Regions from separate parts of the Homo sapiens genome. Here regions 2 and 3 are each linked to region 1. The links are contacts of gene promoters, found by promoter capture Hi-C in blood cells and fetal thymus (Javierre and others, 2016). All regions are on one chromosome and are shown on one strand. The core of a region is centred on a gene start or on the middle of the fragment in contact, and the rest is flanking DNA. Distances in the headings are between cores, read along the strand shown.

Region 1 (4,488 bases), core at 528-3,027:
GGCCCAAGACCTTCCCCTGGTCTCCTACGGGGCAAGAAAAGCTTCAAAGAAAAGGGACACTTGGTTGAGTATTGAAGCCCAAAGAAGAGGAAGTGGTCTCCTTTCGAGAAGTAAGGGGTTTGGAATTGATTGGAAGGATAGGGAGTCCTGGGGGGTTCAGGGATCACACAGAGGACAGAAAAGACAGGTAGGGAGCTTGTGGCTGCACACTCATTTCAGAGTCTGGGAGAGGGAGCAGGGACTGGTTGTGAGGATTCCCCATGGGAATCCTCCCAGGACCCTAAGCAGGAGCTGCAAGTGCTGTTGAGAACCTGATGAGAGGTGGGGAGCATGAGGGAAGTTTGGCAGAAACACAGGAAAGCTACCAAATGCAGACAGCCAGGGGACGCAGGGCTGCTAGAGCGGTGCCCCAGAGCCAGGAGAGCAAGCCTGGAAGGAGAGCCAGAGGCAGGAGGGGCACAGGCAGCCCAGGGTGTGGGAAGCAGCCAGGAAAGATCTAGAGCTGGGGTGGCAGGGGAGGGGCTGCTGACATCAGGAATGTTGGATGGTGCCTTGGAATCTCCTGGGAGACAGGGATCACAAGACCCTCTGCCACCTTCCAGAGGGCCACGATGAAAACAGCTAAGATTTACTGACAACTGATTATGCAAGAGGCCGTGGGTTAAATGCTTCAGTGATGCATCACCTCATCTAATTTCCTGTACTAATGTAGGACCACCCATTGCTCACCACCACCTGAAGCCCTGTGCTCACCACCACCTGAAACTCTCTCACCTACGTGAGACCTCCTGGAGTAGGAGGGCAAAGGCAGGAGGGAGGGACGACGTGAAGCTGTGCCACCAACAGGGAGAGTGGTCCCATTAGTATGGCAGGGGGTGACACAGCACAGTCCCCTGTGGCTCAAGCCTAGTACCTGTCGCGTACTGGAGGAATGGGGATAAGCGACCCGTACAACCACAGCACCAACCCTAGAGCCACCGGCCCCCAAAAGCGGCCCTGCCGCCCGGGTGCTGGATGTGCCTCCACGCCAGCGCTGACCTCGGCCTAGCACAGGGTCCCTCCAGGCATCTGGGCTCGCGTGCGCATTAGTAAGCCAGCCATTCCTCCCCTAGCAGACTGGGGAGTGGCCAGACCCTACCGAATCCCCCTGTTCCCACCTGAGATGCCAGCCCCCCACACCCCCGCCCTGCCCTGGGCTCTTACCTTCTGCGGCCGTCCCTGGCCGCTTCCCTGGCTTGCCCCCCGCCTGGGCTTTTCGGACCCGCGGGGTGGGCTCGGGAGGCGGCGGGGCCTCCACGTCGTCCTCCCGGGGCTCAGGTTCTAGCTCTGACAGGAAGCCCTCGAGGAACTCCTCGATCTCGTCGTCGGTCAGCACCGTCTGCGGGCGCCCTCCAGGGCACAGGGCCAGCAACGCCAGGAGGCAGCTGAGCAGGGGCGCCCCGCGCACGGCCGCCATGGCCGCGGCACGCGCGGGGGGCTCCGGGGAGGGCGCGGGGGGTCAGGGGCTCTGGGTCTCTGGGAAAGGGCGGAGAGGGGATCGAGACGGGTGAGGGAATCCAGGAAGGGGCGGGAGAGAGGATGGGGTGAGCGAGGGAATCCGGGAAAGGGAGGGAGAGTGGATTAGGGTGGGCGAGGGGACCCGGGAAGGGGTGCTGGGGGGCTCCGAAGCCAGAGGGGCTCAGGGGTGGTCGGGGCGCTCCGAGGTCCTGGCGGCTAATAGGCGCTCCGGCCCCGCGTGGCGCACTCCCGCGCGGATAGCCGTCTCCAAAGCGCTGGCGGGGCCCGGGGCGGGGGCGCCGGGGCTTCCGGAGCCGGCTCCCCACCCCCGGGGAGGAGGAGGAGGAAGAGAAGGAGGAGCCGAGAGTGGACGGAGGGGCTGCGGGGGGGCGGGGGGCGGGGGGCGGGGGGCTAGGGGCGGGGCAGGCGGGCGGGCGCTGGCGGCGAGCGTCCCAAGCCCGGAGACTTGCGCCTAGGACAGAGGGGCAGGGGGCGGGGCGACTGGGAAGACAGAGGGCCTGAGGGAAGGAAAGGTGGTGGGGAGGGCCTGGGGTGCGGGTCTGAGGGGGCCGACATCCCTCCTCCTTCTGCCCTAGGCACCCCCCTTAAGGCGGGACCCCGAGTCCACCGGGGCTCTGAGCCCTCCGCGGGTGACCAGGAACCCTGGACGGAAAGCCGTGGTGTCAGGCCTCTGAGACCTCTCTCAATTCGGAGGGCCACAGAAAGGCCACCCCATCCTTCCCAGGCTCTGGAGCCTCTGCCCATGGGCCCTGCTGCATCCCAGCGTCAATTCATTCAGTCATCCTACCAACCTCTTCAGGTCGGTGTGGGGCCGGGCCCCGTGCTGGGCCCCAGGGAGGGACAGCACAGTGGGAACTCACTTTCCAGCCAGGAGGCAGGTGCAAAACTGCCCTCAGAGTGGCCAGCTGCCCCGCTGGGGGTAGGAGTCCCATGTAAGGGCATGCCATCCCTCCCCTCCGGGTCCCAACGTGGACAAATAGCCATTTATCACCTTCTTCTTACCAGAACTCATTTTTTAAAAAGTGTCTACCATACCTCCAGCTGCCACATGGACCCAGAGGGCCCAGAGGACCCAGAAGGCAGGTGGATTGAGTGTCAACTGATCCCAGGATCCATCAGGGATGTGCACCTTGGTGCCTGGTGTTTGCCATAAGGCTTCTCCAGGGCAAATGTTGGCTGCCCTACAACGGCCATCAACAGGCAGAGTGGTCCCATTAGTATGGCAGGGCGTGACACAGCACAGTCCCCCGTGACTCAAGCCTAGTCCCTGTCTCATACTGGAGGAATGGGGAGCTAAGGACAGAGCTCCGAGGACATTCCCCCTTAAAGGAATGAGGACACAAGAGAAAGCTCACAGGTAGTCCATGGGCCAAGTGCAGAGGCAGACAGCCCTAAGCCACGATTGTCTGCGGGGTTTGGCCCCAGTGAAGTAGTCAGGTAGGGAAGCCTAGGAGCCCCTGGGATGATTGACAGGGCAGAGTTTGGACCTGGGGTCAAAAGGAAAGAGGAAAAGTGGGTCAGGAAGCACCTGGGTCCCCAGAGCAGCCCCGAGTGAGTTGGAGCAGGCAGCAGCCGGGGAGGCCACAGTGGAGGCTGCTGGGCCTGGGATACATGCCACCCCCTGGGAGCAGGACCACAAGGAGGCCTTGCCTCCTCTCACACCTGGTCCTGCCAAGACCCTGCCTTTGCTTTCTCACTGCATCTCCTTGAAAAAGCAGTGGGACTGTGTCAGGTTCTGGCTCTACCTCCCAGGCACCACATCTCGGCAGGTAGCCTCAGTGCCGTCCACCTGTGTCCCTGTTCTCCTTGTCGTTCATACAGGATCATGCATGTGCTGTGCCTAGCACACATTCTTGGCACTCACACTGCTGCCTTTTAGCTCTCATCATTTGCCCTCAGAGATCAACCTGAGCTGTGCCCACTGGGGCGCTCAGAGCAGACCCTGAGCCCCAACACCCAGGCTCCCTGTGCACCTGAGCCTGCCTCTGCCTGCCACGTGCCCCCAGGCCAGTCCTGGTGGCAGCAAGGATCCGCAAGCTCTCCCCTTTCCTCATCCTCTGCAAAGCTCTGAATCATCTTTCTCAAAACTTGTTCTGGGAATTTGCTCCGTTGCCCCAGTTGAGCATGTCAAGCCCGGCGGCCCAAGGCTGGGGTGAAGCAGCGTGGCACGTCACTTCCCTGGGAACAACTCACACATGGATTGGATTTGGGTCCAACATCCTCTGCCAGGGAAAATAGAAGCCATAAGAAAACAAAAAAGGAACAGAAGGAGGCTTTTCTTCAGTCACAGCGAGTCACCAACAAAAACATGTGCAAAAGCTCTCATGGAGAGCTGGGCCACAAGGAGGGCCATGATGTTGGGGGCCCTCTGACACCAAGGGTGTGGGCAGGTGGATGGGAGGCAGCTGCCCTCCATGCCAGGCTGATGTGCCTCCCTTTGGGTGGTGGGGCTGGGACTCCCACTCCACTTGAAGACCTGCACCAAAAAGTCCTTTAGCCCTGTGCCCAGGCTCTGCCACGGGGCCGGTGAGGGGACTTCTCCCCTCTGCTGCCAGAGTGAAGCCAGTCAGGGGGATGGGAGGCTTGTAGCCAAGAGCACCTAGTGGCTTTCAGGGTCCCTTACCCCTGCCACTTAGCAGGGTCTGCACCTGCATCCAAGTGTTCTCCTGGGCTACAGTGGGGGGCTGGTAGACACTCTGGTGATCCACTTTCAGCTTCCCACATGGATGTGGCAGGGACTGCTTTGGCATTTCCCTACCCCAAGGGACAGCCACTGCGGCAGGACTGGGCTGGGGAGGGTGGGGCCTGCGCTGGGGAGGGTGCCCCCTGTCCCTTGCTGCTGCTGGAATGGGAAGGAGAGTTGTTGAGAGAGCCAGAACTGTCCAAGGGTGGAAGCTGGCGAAACTGACCTGCAGGGAACAGGGAGACAGGGAGCATGGCCCAGTGAGTAGGTCCTATGTAGCTCTGAGG
Region 2 (4,946 bases), core at 2,327-4,826, 87 kb before region 1:
GGTTCAAGCGATTCTCATGCTTGTATTGTTCTTGCACCTGTTCTGCAAGTACAACATTGTGGGAATGGAAAATGCAGGAAATGGGCAGTAAGGCTATGAACGAAGCCCGCACAGGAGTGTGGGTAGCAGAGTTCTCTAGTCCAGGCTCCCACCTGAGGTGCTGGGACCTAGAAGAAAAGCCTCTCTGCAGACAGAACTGGAGTTAACGCTGTCCACGATAAATGGCCCAGGCCCTGTTAAGTTTGCCCCATTGAGCAAAACAAGTACCCACCCGCCTTTGCAGCCTTGCCTAGCTCACATAAGGTGCCAGCCCTTGCTGTACAGCAGAACCTTTGGGGAGCTGGACAAAAGCCTATCAAGGAGCATACCCCCAGGAAGCCCAGTCCAGGTGGGGAGCCCAGCCACACAATGGCCCTTGCCCCCACACCTCCTCATTCAGTCAGCTAAGGCCATGGCAGCTGAGCTGCCTCCACAGCTCATATAGGAAAAGGGTGTGGAAAGGGGCCACCAATGTGGTCAGGCCTCCATGGCCTGAGTAGGTCACCAAGCCTCAGGTGCACAGACTTGATGTCATCAATCAGGGTCTGTCAGCACACCTAGCCCTCAGGAACACTGCTCCCCACTGCAACCCCACACCAAGGCATCCTGGGCTCCCTCTGGGTTCTCCAGGCCCCAGGGAAGACAGACAGAGTCTGCCACCAAAGGTTTGAGCTCTGCCACTGGCTACGAAGCAATAGGGGATGTCAGAGCAAGGGAGGAACAGGACAGGAGTATACGTGGGCAGGAAGGGATTACAGCCAAGGAAGACAGGAGGCAGGTGCCCTGATTTTGAGGCTGTGCCCCAGCAGGGGCTTCCCAGAAGCTGTATTTGTCCTAAGACACCCCTCTGCAGCTGAGGGGCTAGAGATGGATATGTAGCTGTGTTAGGCCATTCTTGCATTGCTATAAAGAAATACCTGAGACCAGGTAATTTATAAAGAAAAGAGGTTTCATTGGTTCACAGTTCTGCTGGCTTTGCAAGAGGCATGGTGCTGGCATCTGCTCAGCCTTTGAGGAGGCCTCAGGAAACTTACAGTCATGGCGGAAGGCAAAGGGGAAGCAGGCACATCACACAGTGGAAGCAGGAGTGAGAGAGAGAGAGGCACTGGGAGGTGCCACACTTTTAAACAACCAGATCTCGTGTGAACTCAGAGCAAGAGCTGACTCATCACCAAGGGGATGGCCCAAGCCATTCATGAGGGATCCACCCCCATGACTCAGACACCTCCCACCAGGCCCCACCTCCAATATTGGGGATTACAATTCAGATGAGATTTGGTGGGGACACATATCCAAACCATATCAGTTATCAGTAGCCATACTGGATGAATGCCAGGAACTTAGAATTAGGACACATGGTCATTTAGGCAAGTGGCTTGTCCTGTCAATGGTACCCTGATAGTCGTGGGGTTGCCCCGTACAAAAAGCGAGAGGAAGTCTACAGAGCTGTCAAAGAGGGGCAGGTGGAAAGGCCTGCAGAGGAGTCCCCTGCTCCACAACCAGGCGTGCACCTCCCACATCCTCGGGGCTGTAGGCCCCACATGAGAGCAGAAAGAAGGATGCAGAGGAAGGCCAAGAACACAAGGTGTGCCCTTGGAAAGGCTGGGCACACCAAACACAACCTAATAAACAACAGCAATGAGCACACAGGGAAAGTACTCACAGGGAAACCATCATGAACTAGAGGCTGATCCCACACCCTGCCACATGGGGCCCCAGGCCCCAGCCTATCAACCAGTGGTCCTTATTGCCACAGCGATTGGTCTTTGGATAGGCACCTGATGCAAGCTTCAGCCAATCAACAGGCCACTCAGCTGGCCATCAGTAGGCCATCCAATCAGAGCAAAGCCCAGGACTTTCTTCGACTCTTAAGAAAAGAGAAGCAAAGTAACTGGCACAGATTGGAGAGGATCAAGGAACCCCGAGCTGGATACATACAAACTTTGGGTTAACATGGATGATTAAATACATATGTTTATGTGAACCACCTCCCAAATATGCTCCACTATAATGACACAAGACAAAGGGCAGGGGGAGACCAATTGCAAGGTGGCGCAAATGAGAGATGCTACCAAGGGTGGCGGGGGAGAGAGGGGAGCAGTTGTCAAGTTAGGAGGCAACAGGCTGAGGGACAGGGACCAGCAGACGGGGAGGGAGGGGCTGAAGCAGAAGTGTCCAGTGTCTGGAGGGATGGGGCCAGAAAGGCAAGGGGCATCCTGAAGAAGCTATACCTGGGGAGGGCAGCTCTCTCCCCACCTGCTCCCCAATTCATCAGCCAGGAATGCCCCATCCACCCCACCCCAGGGAGGAGGACAGAGGACTTTCGTTTGGGAGCATTGAATGGTTCAGAGATTCTGCAACTCTGCGGTCCCCAACTAAACTGCTCATTGTTTCAAGCAGTCCCTGTTGGGTAAATGTCCCCCATTGTAACCGGACTCGGATTCCACCGCTTGAAAGCCAAATACAAGAGGAGAGGTTTGGTGGGAGGAAAAGTGGTTTTAACTAGAGCCAGCAAACCAAGAAGATGGTGAATTGTTGTTTTAAAGCATTCAATTATCTCAAATTTTAAAATTTATCATAGGATTCTGAAAGGAAAACTTGGTATGGGACATACGTGGGAGCAGTGCAGGGTACAGGGTCTATGTGTCTTGATCCAATGGCTGTCTTGAGTATCACCTATCCTGAGGTCTGGTTGGTGTTATCTTTCCTTCGGCCAGATGGTGGTGGGTGAATTGTTTCGACTCCCCCTAAGTTGGAGGATTCCGCAGGGGTTCCGTGTCTGGTTTTTGTTTCAAGATTAGCCCCTGGAATTCCCAAATAAGCATAGAGTTAGATAAGCGGGCATGGTGCAAAGGAGTGTCTAGTGGGAAAGGGAGAGAAGCAGAGTTTCAAAGTACATTTCAAGGTTACATTTTAAGACTAAAGAAAAAGCCTTAAAATGCATTTTTAAAGCTGATTTAATGCTTGGCTACACTAGGCTGTGGCCAGTGTGCAGTGTGGCTGCTCTTGGATCAGGTGATGTTTCATCAGCTGTGTCCAGGGAGGGCAGGGCCATGTGGCAGAACCTGGGACCTCTGTGTGAGGGACTACCTTGGCCCCTGTCCTTAGCAGGAAGCTATGGTAAGGAACCCTTAGGGAGACATTAAATTGGGGAGACCGTCCCTGCCAATCCTTTAACCTCCCCAGCCTCAGCGACCTCAGTTGGAAAGTGGTGGTAATAATACTACCACTGACCAGGTGTGGTGGCCAGACATTCCACACTTTGGCTTCAGCCGCTCCCTCCCCACTCTACTGTAATCCCAGCACTTTGGGAGGAAGAGGTAGGCGGAACCTGAGGTCTGGAGTTGAGACCAGCCTGGTCAACATGGTGAAACCCCATATCTACTAAAAAGAAAGTACAAAAAATTAGCCAGGTGCAGTGGCACACGTGTGTGGTCCCAGCTACTCGTGGGTCTGAGGCATGAAAATTGTTTGAGCCTGGGAGGCAGAGGTTCCATTGAGTGGAGATCGAGCCACTGCACTCCAGCCTGGGTGATAGAACGAGATTCTGTCTCAAAAAAATAAAAATAAAATAATAATAATAATACCACTGCCTGCCACACTAAGATTGTCTGATTAGATGACAGAATGAATGCAAAAGTACTTTGTGAATCATAAATGTTTTCATCAATATTAGTTATAATGACAATTGCTCCTTCTCCTAATAAATGTATTGCCTTTCTTTAGGAATAAATATAACAAGAAATGTGTAAGATATATATGAGAAAAATAATAAAATTCACCTGAAGGACATAAAAGAAGACCAAAATAAATGAAACAACACATACTTCTAGATGAGAAAACTCAATATTATAAAGAGGTTAGTTCTCTAAAATGAATCCCTAAACCCACAAAGTCAATGTATTTCCAATGAAATTGTCAACAGCATTATTTTCCGAAGTGGGATGAGTAGTGCTAAGATTTATAAGAAAGCCAACATTCCAGAGCAGTGGGGAAGGGATTGCTTCACCACCAAATAGCCATATTAGAGATTCCCTTGCACCATACCCAAACCACCATCTCCCAGGACCCGGGAGAGCAGAAAAGAGGAATGAGAAGAAAGGCGAGGATGTGAGGTGTGCCCTCATAATGGCGGTGCACGCAGCACAAGCAATTGCAGAAAGACTAAAGTACTGAACAAATAGAAAACTTGGAAAAATATTAGAAGGAAATGTGGGAGAACATTTTTGCAATTTGGGGATTGGAAACGGTTTTCTTAACAAGATATAAAAACCCCAAAACAAGAAAACAAAGGTTGAAATTCATAAAAACTAGATACTTCTGTATGATGAAAGACACGATTAATCAAGTTGTTAAGTTTAGCAATAGACTAGGGGAGATATCATAGTATATTTAACAGACAAAGGATTAATAGATACTACAGATGAAATATAAAATAGTTTCTCCAAGTCCATAGGCAGAAGATAATCCAATAGCAACATAGTTAAGTAATGTAAACAAATCATCCTTAGAAGAAGAAATGCAATCACCAAGAAACACATGAAAAGGTGTCCAGCATTTTGCAATTCAAGCAACAATGAGGTGACAGATCGGCAAAAAACTCATAAAGATTTATCATCTGAAGGATTGGCCAAGATAAAGCCAAACTTCTCGTGTTGGCAGAAGAAACTGGTGAAGCCATGTGAAGAGGCCACGTGGTCCTGCCTACCAAGATGTAAAATGTGTACAGCATTTGAACTAGCAATTCAGCCTCCAGGAGCCATCCAGAAGAAACACTGACACACACTTAGACTCCGGTGAAATTCAAGGACTTCTGCCACAGCCTGCTTCGTAATAGTGAAAATCTGAAACTGCCTCAATGACCGTCAATAGGAAGTTGATTTTAAAGTGTTACAGCACATCTGTCT
Region 3 (4,601 bases), core at 83-2,582, 100 kb before region 1:
AGCCAGCAAGAATGTCCTTCATCCCTACACACAGCTGAGCGACTCAAATTTTTAACACAGAAAGTTAACTGATTCAGATATGCACACCAATCATCTAGATTTTACAACTGCAGCTAGATGAGGCTGGGTGAATAGGACTCATCCACTCCCCACCGTGGGGAGAGGAGAAACAGCGGGTGTCCCAGGTGTCATGGTACTCAGACTAGGACTTGAGCAACAGAAAGAGATGGCTTGAGGAGAAAACGGAGAAATGCCACCTAGGTGGTAAGAAAGCTCACAAGGTTTCAAAAGACACAGATACCATGAGACTTTCACATCTATCGTTCATTCCAAAGCCACGTTATTTGGAGTGCAGTCAGCACACCTGTGTTTGAAGCCCCTGGGATGCTTTTTATAAAATGCAGGTTCCCAGGCTCCATCGCAGGCCAACAACTCCAACCCCAGGAGACGCTGATGTACACACTAAAGCTATGCCTGTGTAAATGGTAAAGCTTTGTATGTGGGTTTCAATCCACTCCAGGTATCTATCAACTGCTGAGCATGGTATAAACTAGGCACTGTATCATGAGCAGGATGGAAAGATGTCCCAGTGCTCATACGCTGGTCAGGGAGACATGTAAACAAGCAGTGACAAAACTGTGACATCTGGTCAGAAAGGCCCAACCTTCAGGCGCCTGTGTGTGAGCTGGGCAAGAAAGGGTATAAGAGAGAACAGGGCCCAGTCAGGAGACTGTGAGTTAGTTTGCACTTTATCCTGGGGCGGATCTGAGAGCTGCTGAAGGGTTCTAAGTTGTGCAGATCAATGACTACTCTCTGGTGGACAGACTGGAGGTGAGCAGGAGGCAAGGGGACCACTTAGAGGCAAAGGCTGTAAGAGAAAAACCTGAGAAAAACAGATAGCTGCTTACATTCCACTTGTATGCAAAAATTTAAAAAAAAAGAGTTGAAGCAACAGTTACAAATCAGGAGATTTCAGCTCAAAATGCAGGGTTCTGGCTCTTTTCAAAGGGGCCTATGTGACAACCCTGGGCCCATATTCCAGAAGCTGCCCTGTGGTCAGTGCACGGTGCTTCAATCTGTTCACCTTCAATGCAAACGCTGCAAGGGGAGGCACCTGTGGGGTGTGGAGGCACCCGAAACCCTAACAAAGGCACCAGGGTGGGAATCCAGGTCTTCAGAAGCCAAACCCTAGGAACCCAGTAAATGGTCAGACAGGCAGTAGCCATGAGGAAGGGAGACTTGAGGGTTCCACTGGTTCCCAGCTTGGTCCCCTAGAAACAATGGGTGCCATTAACCAAGAGAAGGGTATAGGAAAGACAGTCTGATGCCCGGGGTGGGGGAAGGGGTGGGCAATCCCACTTGCTGGAGAGTGCCGTGGTTACTATTATATTAAAACGAGGATGGATCTGTGCATGCCTGGCCAGTGGAAATCGCACCCCCGCCTCAGTTCTTGGGCTTGCTCTCCATCTTCCTGCTTACCAGAATGATTTTGGTCTCATCTAGTTCGGCCTGCACTTTAGTCATGGGATCAGCTTCTCGTGGGTTCTAGGAAAGAGTGAAAAATAATAAAGTCAGGACTGGAGTGGCTACCTGCAAACAAAACCTAAAACTGAGGAAGCTGGACAAACTTTCACAGGTTAAAAACCACAGCCTGGGCCGGGCACAGTGGCTCACGCCTGTAATCCCAGCATTTTGGGAGGATGAGGCGGGTGGATCACCAGAGATCAAGAGTTCGAGACCAGCCTGACCAACATGGTGAAACCGTCTCTACTAAAAATACAAAAATTAGCCAGGCGTGGTGGCACATGCCTGTAATCCCAGCTACTCGGGAGGCTGAGGCAGGAGAATCGCTTGAACCCAGGAGGTGCAGGTTGAGTGAGCCGAGATTGCGCCACTGCACTCCAGCCTGGGAAACAGAGTGAGACTCCAACTCAAAAAACAAAAAACAAAAAAAAAAACCCACAGCCTGTTTAACATGTAACAGAAACCCAAAGCCTGCCTAGAGCTTGGGTTCCCCGGTCTGAACGTAGATTCTCTGTTTTCCAAACAGTAAGGCTTGAGAGAGGACACCAGCATCAGAAGCTGTCAGAAGTAATTAGACCAGAACTATCAGGGCAGTTGGCTTTTTCAGTTTCACATGGATTCTGGGCCACATGGTGTCTGCTGAAGCTTCCTTTAACCCTACCTGGTATCTACTGAGGTGACCATCCAGGGCTGGGTAATGGATTGTAGCAGGGGATCCTACTGGCCAGTCTATCCTGTCGACTTGCTTGGAGAATTCATCTAGTACCTGCAAGACAAAGGAGACTCAACAAGCCTCCCACTGTGCACTCACCAGTGGTCTCAATGACAGGGCTTCACCCCTGAGCACCTCACCCTGAATGAGGCTCCTTGGCCTTCACAGCCCAGGAAGGAGGAATGAGGGGGACATATAATGGCAACAGAGAAAATCTAGGCTAAAGTTCTTTCCAAATTTTTATCATTAAAACATATCCTAAATATTCTGAGAATCAAAAGTATGCCCAGCCCGAGATGAACCTCACTTGGGGAGTAATAAAGGTATTTGAATTTTAAACTACAGATTTCCAGAAAAAAGGGGCACTGGTCCTCTAATTTTCCAAAGCAATTTTTTAAAAAAGAGAATTAGGTCCCCTAGATTTAAGAAACCACCAGATTCCATGTGTTTGGAGGTATTTTGGTGCTCTGGGGTATAGGATGAAGCCTCTGACTTCAAAGAGTTAATATTAGTAATTAGCACCGTACGCAAAAAAATTTAAAGAATGCTTAGGTGCTAAGCTCTGTGGTGCAACTGACTGACATCAAGGTAGAGGGATGCAGCAACTGCAGGAGGCAATGGGGAGAGTGAAGGCATTCAAGAGGGAGACTCCTTGAGCAGAAGCACAGGGGGCGAGAACACAAGGCACAGCTGTCTCCGAGGGTCCCATCCCAGAGAATAGATGCTATGACTCAGTGGCCTAGACCCAGCTCACATGAGGGACAGCACCGGGGAGGAAACCCATACAGGGATGCCAAATTGTCTCTTGGGTTGCAGGGAAGGGGGCTGAAAAATGTGTTGACTTTGGACACATCATTTCATCCCTTATGTCTCAGGGACTGCCATCAACCCCTGTCCCAGTCCATAAATGTGCCCATTCATCATCCAAGTCCAGGAGAGGCAAATAAAAAACTCACCTTCTCCAGCAAGGTAAAGGCCACCCGGGATGGGTATTCATTGTCAGCAATGACCACACCTGCAAGACTATCATTCCGGACGTAGACGTGGCACAGATAGTCTAAGGAGACAAGAGATCAGACACATGGATGCTGACATGAGGGCTTCAGACTTCTTTTAATCCCCCCAAATCAAAGCATCCAATGTTAGGCCAAATGAAGCCACTCGGAAGCTCAATAGCTCTGGGCAAGTCTTGTGGAGAGGCTTAGCAGCACAGCCCAATGGGCCACACACAGGAGCTTGGCCCAACGCCTGCTTTAGGACCAGTAAATACCCAGAGGCCCAGTATGCAAAGCCAGGGCTTAAAGAAACAGCCAGTGGTGCAGAAAACACACCCTTGACAACATGGCCCCAGGAGCATTTCCAAGTGTATTCCTTAAGCTCGGGTCAGGCCAAGCTATATCTTAGGGATCTGGAGCCCTTGGGGCTCTGTGCTGCTCCCAAACTTAGGGAACCCTGGACAAGCCAAGAGGCCTCTGCTTTCTTAAAAAATCTTTTCAGAGCAGCCAAAAGACAGGAAATTACCCCCCAGGGCCTCAGTCTTCCATATTATAGCAACCTGCTGGGTTTGCTCCACTCTGGTGGGTGACTGGGAGTAGGGGGGTTAGTCTAGAAAAAGATTAGCTACTGCCAGCTAAGGCCTCCAGAGCACTGTGCTAAAATCCTCATATGATTGAAAGGTACAGTTGTACAGGTCTTCCGCAAAATATTCACAATCCACAGGATTGTTCATTTCCATCACTTTGAAAGGATTCAGAGTTGATACAGCTAACCATATCCCCAAGGAAAGAGAAATGTAAGGATTACAGCTTACAAATAAGAACCTTCTTGTCCTTAAGGATCTGACCCAGAAGATTCCAATGCTAAACAACAGAAAAACAAATAAAAGAGGAGGGAATGATGGTGAGCCCCTGAAATCAGAAAAGAGCAGAGATAAATGAGAACAAGAATGAGGAGGAGGAAGAGGACAGGGGGTTGTCACCAATGCTCTCCAGATTTTGTATACCATCCCCAATTAAGATTCAAACATGGGGTCAAAGTGCATACCCTCCAAAGAAACTGAGAACCTGGTCAGTGGAGGAATTGTCTTTAAGTAATAAACGTGGGAAGGGCAGGCACAGTTTGAAGAACAGAGCAAGAACACTGAAATATTTGTGATGCGATTTCACTTCTATGATGTTAATAGCACAGAGATCCCACATAAAGTGTATATAGTCAATCCTGCCTGTATCATAACTGACATTTATATCATCAATTCAGTAACTCTATGTCACGTGACTTGAGGTTAGCATAAGTGTGAGATGATCTTTGTCCCTACCTGATGAAACTCATGTAACTCTTTCCTGATCTGTCTGTATAACATACACAT

The links. The method cuts DNA at HindIII sites, captures the fragments that hold promoters and counts their contacts. A CHiCAGO score of 5 or more calls a contact.
Region 2: a fragment that was not itself captured here is called in contact with the fragment with the promoter of AEBP1 in region 1 in 3 of 17 cell types (endothelial precursors, M1 macrophages and megakaryocytes); the score reaches 7.5 in endothelial precursors.
Region 3: a contact is called between a fragment that was not itself captured here and the fragment with the promoter of AEBP1 in region 1, in 3 of 17 cell types (endothelial precursors, megakaryocytes and M1 macrophages). The highest score is 7.2, in endothelial precursors.

The regions. Positions count from the first base shown.
Region 1 is chr7:44,101,634-44,106,121 of GRCh38, reverse strand. AEBP1 (AE binding protein 1) reads right to left here and starts at 1,777. Exons shown (of 21, transcript NM_001129.5): 1 at 1,204-1,777. The coding sequence starts at 1,456. RefSeq lists an enhancer at 4,323-4,488. The HindIII fragment of the contact is 6,426 bases long and covers 44-4,488 here.
Region 2 is chr7:44,190,466-44,195,411 of GRCh38, reverse strand. No RefSeq gene overlaps it. Among named protein-coding and RNA genes, the nearest start is that of GCK, 3.5 kb to the right of the region's middle. The HindIII fragment of the contact is 3,494 bases long and covers 1,830-4,946 here.
Region 3 is chr7:44,205,077-44,209,677 of GRCh38, reverse strand. YKT6 (YKT6 vesicular SNARE protein) reads right to left here. Exons shown (of 7, transcript NM_006555.4): 3 at 3,193-3,293; 4 at 2,186-2,290; 5 at 1,480-1,545. Among named protein-coding and RNA genes, the nearest start is that of YKT6, 6.4 kb to the right of the region's middle. The HindIII fragment of the contact is 1,678 bases long and covers 494-2,171 here.